Linked DNA regions of Homo sapiens: region 1 is linked to region 2. The links are contacts of gene promoters, found by promoter capture Hi-C in human tissues and cell types (Jung and others, 2019). All regions are on one chromosome and are shown on one strand. Each heading gives the region's core, a stretch centred on a gene start or on the middle of the fragment in contact. The rest is flanking DNA. Distances are from core to core; before and after follow the strand shown. Region 1 overlaps ARHGEF40 (Rho guanine nucleotide exchange factor 40). Region 2 holds the start of METTL3 (methyltransferase 3, N6-adenosine-methyltransferase complex catalytic subunit).

The links. Contacts are between HindIII fragments. The study calls those that stand out against the background at their distance.
Region 1: a contact is called between a fragment that was not itself captured here and the fragment with the promoter of METTL3 in region 2, in 1 of the 25 tissues and cell types used here (aorta).

Annotation. Positions count from the first base shown.
Region 1 is chr14:21,074,342-21,077,041 of GRCh38, reverse strand. ARHGEF40 (Rho guanine nucleotide exchange factor 40) reads right to left here. Exons shown (of 24, transcript NM_018071.5): 3 at 1,862-2,700; 4 at 1,543-1,710; 5 at 1,277-1,397; 6 at 586-682; 7 at 399-479; 8 at 152-268. Among named protein-coding and RNA genes, the nearest start is that of ARHGEF40, 5.4 kb to the right of the region's middle. The HindIII fragment of the contact is 3,154 bases long and covers 1-2,700 here.
Region 2 is chr14:21,509,885-21,512,594 of GRCh38, reverse strand. METTL3 (methyltransferase 3, N6-adenosine-methyltransferase complex catalytic subunit) reads left to right here and starts at 1,255. Exons shown (of 11, transcript NM_019852.5): 1 at 1,255-1,471. The coding sequence starts at 1,372. RefSeq lists an enhancer at 973-1,212. The HindIII fragment of the contact is 21,601 bases long and covers 1-2,710 here.

The DNA of each region.
Region 1 (2,700 bases), core at 25-2,524, 440 kb after region 2:
TGGGAGCCATAAATACTTGTTGAATTGAATGGAATGGAAACCACTTTTTTGCAACCTCATGGTATGTCCTGGACATGGCCTCTCTCCTAGAATGTCTTCAGCTGGGTTATTCCTGGCTCCCAGCATGCTAGGTGGTAGAGGGGAAGCTTACCTGGTGTATCTCTACCCAGTGACTGGGAGAGGGGTCCCTGTGACCTCCTAACTCCCACTGCAGCTCCTCTGGCTTGGCCACTCTTTTCAGATCATTCTCTGACAGCACCTCAGCACCCTGTAGAGGGTAAGGCAGGGGGTTTCTTCCTGGGCACCCAAGGACTCAGAAACCAGCCTGGGGCTCCAGCCAGCCTCTTCTCCTCTCCCCACTACTGATGGGAAACTAGATGGGAATGAAGGGCTCAAACCTGAAATCCACAGAGTTCAGTTGGAAGGTCATCATGAATGAGAATCAGCAGCCGCTGAACAAGGGGAGGATCTCCTGAGTCCTAAGGGCAGAAAAGAATAACCCTAAACTGGGCAATCGGGTGTCCTGGACTGGCCACTGGTGAAGAGTTAGGATCCAGGGGAACTGCCTGTTTGAGGGGTGGTTACCTGAAGTTGGCTCAAGGCAGGAATGAGTGCTGGAGGCAGTGGAGGTGCCTGACGAAGGTCCAGCAGGACGGACAGCCCCAGTGTCTGTAGATCAGGCCTGCGGGAGCAGGAAGAGCCAAGGAGGCTGCTGTGTGTGTGTTTTGGGGGATAGCAGATAAGGCAAGGCAGACATACGGGGTCTGTTTTTAGTTAATAGTCCTGAGGAGAAATTAGTTGCCGGTACATTTGGGAAGAAATGGGCAAAGGGCCAAATTCTGGGGTGTGTGTACAAGAGGAAGTCACCTAGCAGTCAGGGGTCTATATTCATATGGCTACTAGGTCAAGGGATTAAGGTCTGGAAAATTAAGAATTCTGTTCTGAAATGGCGTGCATTCAATATCAGCCTGTAGTATGGTGCCTAATAGGTACTCAGTGCTCAATAAATGTTTGTTGAATCAGTGAACCAATGTCCTGATGATCTTGGTAGGGTTGGAAGAGAGTGAAAGTCAACAGTGTTGCTTTTGAAGATCAGTGAAGATATGAAGCTGGAGGTCAGGGTAAGTAAGGCCAAAGGTCAATGGCTTGAAGTCTGAAGGTTGAAGAAGTAGGTGTCCTTAGAGGTCAGAAGGTCAGTGTCCTGAGAAGAAGGAGGTGAGGGTCCTCATGAATCAGGAGGTTAGTGTCCAGGGTGCCAGGACTGGGCCTCGGTTACCTGAGCAGTGAGTGGAGGTAATGAAGAGTTGTGTTCAGCGTGTCTCGGGAGGGTGGGGGCTCCTCAGGAGGGCACGGTGGGGTAATGGTCAGCAGAGCTCGCCCACTCTGGTCCACCCCTCCTGAAGACACAAAATGGCCAGGCTGTCCTGGCTGGGAGCAGTCCATGCCTACCTCCTTTCCACCCTGCCTCCCCCAGTCCCCAAGCCCACCCAATTGCTTCTCTTTCCCAGTCCTGTTTCCCTTCACCCACTGATGCCCACTGACCCGTCAGGATGAGGAATCCAGATGCCATCAAGTCCCAAGCTACATCAGGGTGATCAGAGACGGAGACTGCAAGGGCCTCTTCTGGAATGTTGTCCCCTTTTCCTTCCTGCACAGTCTCCAGCGGAGGTGTTGGAGTGTCAGACAGGGGGCCTTCTGGGCCTGTGTGTCCTGCACAGACACAGACAGAAACATGGGACTGAAGTTAAGATGGTTCTGGTTGTTCTGCTCCCAGCCTAACCCTGCTCCTCCTCCTGCCCCCTCCCATAGGCCCGACCTGCTTTGGCCCTTGCCCCATGAGCCTCACTCCGTGTCATCTCACCTGCCATACACAGCAGGCCTGGCCCCTCCAGCTCTCTCTCTCCGGCCCCCTCTTCTGTAGGCCCACAGGCTTCAGAGAGCTGAGGCTCTTTCTCGCCTGCTGTTTTGAGCTCTTTTGGCTCAGATTCTGGCTTCCCTGAGCCTTCATATTCCTCCTTAACCAGGTGGCATTCTGGAAGCTTGTGCTCACTTGGTGAGGGCAGATTGCCAAGGGCTTCTTGGTGGCTGGCATCTTCCTTGTCCCCAGGGCTCAGTGGGGCACTGTCCCCTCCTCGGCTAAGAGCCCCTCGACCTGCAGCTCGCTTCTTTCTTCTGTTTCCTTTGCCTGTTCTCCGAGGGGTACCAGGTGGTCCTTCAGCCCCCTGGCCTCCTCCTCCTCCTCCTCTAAGCTCCCCTGGCCTCAGGGGGCAAGATCCGGAGGCTTCTCCCACAGCCTCTGCTGGGGGCTCAGACACCTCCAAGACTGCTGCCTCTGGGACAGCCTCAGCTCCTGGGGGAGACTCAGGGGAGGCTCCGGTGCTGCTCCCCTCGCCGGGTGGGCGTGCTCCATCCTGGCCCCGAGGCCCCAGGCCCTTCTGGTGCATCCACGCCCGGTGTCTCCGGTGGCGGCCCTTCCCTCCAGCGCCCTTGCGGGTGGGTACCGTCCGGACTCTGGAGAGGCCTGGGGAGCCTTCAGCATCTGTTGGGCTCCCCCTCACGGGCAGCGTCACCTCTAACAGCTCCACATACTCGCCCTCAGGTCCTTCCACAGGGGCATTGTGCCCATCCCCAGGACTCCGGGTACCCAGCGCCTCCTCAGGAAGTGGAGGGCTGGGAAGCCCTGGAGGTCCAGAGGGCAGT
Region 2 (2,710 bases), core at 6-2,505:
TAATCCCAGCTATTCGGGAGGCTGAGGCAGGAGAATCGCTTGAACCCAGGAGGCGGAGGTTGCAGTGAGCTGAGACCACGCCATTGCACTCCAGCCTGGGTGACAGAGTGAGTGAGACTCCATCTCAAAAAAAAAAAAAAAAGAAAATGTGTCAAAAAAAGAAAGAAAGAAAGGATTGTAGGAAAAACCACCACCACCAACCTTGTATTTAAGTTTACTACACATACAGAAAAGTGCACACCAAAATGTTCAGCTCAATTACATTTCACAAACTGAACACACTCATGCAGGTAGCTCTCATAACAAAAAACACAACGCAACCAGGACCTCAAAGCCCTCTTAGTGTCGGAACCCGATTTTAATAGATTACACGTACTTTGTAAATTTAGCCTAAGAGAGAGATCACGTATTTGAAGACCTCTCGGATTTTTCCTTCATCAGCCCTCCCCACTTCCCCACGCCTCGTCAACACAAAGAAGCATGCCCGCACCCACCACCGCCCCCTCCTCACCTCAGATTGGGGACCACCGTTGTGTTTTTTATTTTTTTGTAAATGAACGCATGGAAACAAACCAACACCACCTTCAGTGGAAAAGGTATGTTAGTACCAAACTGTCAAAAGGAACTAGTGATCCTTCATCTTAAAAATCTGTACTATGGCCGGGTGTGGTGGCTCACGCCTGTAATCCTAGCACTTTGGGAGGCCAAGGAGGGCGGATCACGAGGTGAGGAGTTCGAGACTGGCCTGGCCAACACAGTGAAACCCCGTCTCTACTAAAAATACAAAAAATCTGCCGGGCGTGGTGGCGGGCGCCTGTAATACCAGCTACTCGGGAGGCTGCGGCAGGATAATCACTTGAACCCGGGAGGTGGAGGTTGCTGTGAGCCGAGATCGCGCCATTGCACTCCAGCCAGGGCGACAGAGTGAAACTCCGTCTCAAAAAAAAAAAAAAGAAAAAAACCCCCAAAACTGTACTATATGGTGTTGCTCTCTACGAGTGCTACTTTAACACAAGTCAACTCTCAGGACTCCTCTCCGAATATTCAACATGGCCGCATGCGCGTCTATAAGCAACATGGCCGCTCTGCCAGTCACCAACATGGCAACCACAGCCTCACTGTGTCCGGAAGCATGAGAGAGCGGGTATGAGGACTATACCGGCCGCTCTGCCAACACCTAACGTGGCTCTTTATAGCTTCCAAGAAAGCGCGACACCGGAAATGACTTTTCTGTCTTGCTCAGCTCCAGGGGTCATTTTCCGGTTAGCCTTCGGGGTGTCCGCGTGAGAATTGGCTATATCCTGGAGCGAGTGCTGGGAGGTGCTAGTCCGCCGCGCCTTATTCGAGAGGTGTCAGGGCTGGGAGACTAGGATGTCGGACACGTGGAGCTCTATCCAGGCCCACAAGAAGCAGCTGGACTCTCTGCGGGAGAGGCTGCAGCGGAGGCGGAAGCAGGACTCGGGGCACTTGGGTGAGGCACTGGGCTGTTGGGGCCGAGGCTCAACCGGGGAGGACGGGCGGGATCCCTAGAGAAAAAGCTCCAGAGTCACTGCCCTTTACCAAACGGCCATTTCTATAAAGCCTCGTACATTGGTACTCCCTCTCCACCTTCAGCAGCAGACGTTCGCCCTTCTGCAAGTAGTTCGCGGTTCCTCCTCACGCTGGGCCTCGGTTCTTCCAGCTCACTTTTACCGGACGGACGCTTGAGCCCCACCCTCGTCCGCCTTGCCCACTCCTCTTCAGACTGCGAGGACGTCGCCTTTGTGAGGCTGCTCAGCCCCCTATCCCGCGAAGCAGCAAGAACCCCTTTTTGTTGCTGCTTTGGCGCTTTGTTCCCTCAGTTATAACGACTGTTTTGTAGTGGTCATTTCTTGGCAGCTGTGGGTACAGTAAGCGAGGAATGAACCTTTATATCCGCAGTGCCCAATTTAGTGGCCCGTACAGAGTGGCACTGGGTGTTTCTGAATGAGTACCCCTACCGGCATTGACTTAGCCATTTACATACCTAGCAGGAATCTGAAAACATTTGTGTTTGGTTTCCAAACTTTTTCTCTTCTCCTGTTGCCCCCGTGTCACGATCATAAAACTTGAAGGAAATTTAAAAGATTAAATTCACTGTTATCCACTCCCTACCCTCAGGACAAACTCTGAATTATTTAAGGCAAACTAGTAACAAAGCTCTGCAAAAATAGTGACTCAGTATCACCTTTGTGGTAGATTGTTCCAATATTTGTCAGTATCTTCAACTGCATCTCTAAATCTTGTCTAGATCATGTTAGGTTCATGTGCTCGTATTCTGGCCCCTAGAAATAGAAGATGCACTGGCAGGATCCTCCCACCTAATTAATTACCTTTCTTGAGTATCTACAGTGTTCATGGGTCTAATTAGACAAAAATAAGGAAGAAATTGCCCCTGTCCTCAAGAAGTTTAAAAAGCATAGGATTCAAGGGGAGACGCTTACAAAAAGTGAGGAATATGATAAGATATATGTACGAAACCAAATGAATGAATCTACAGTCTGTACAATGAAGAGAAGTAACAAGAGCTGGTGTAGGTAGTGAAGCCATCAAAACCATCATAGTGGAATTGGCACTTGAATTTGGCCTTTATGGCTATATAGGACCTAGATAATTAAAGAGGTAAGAGGGGAGGATAGTGGAGTAAGAAGTGCAAGTCATATGGTCAGGCAATAATTAGTAGTCAAGTCTC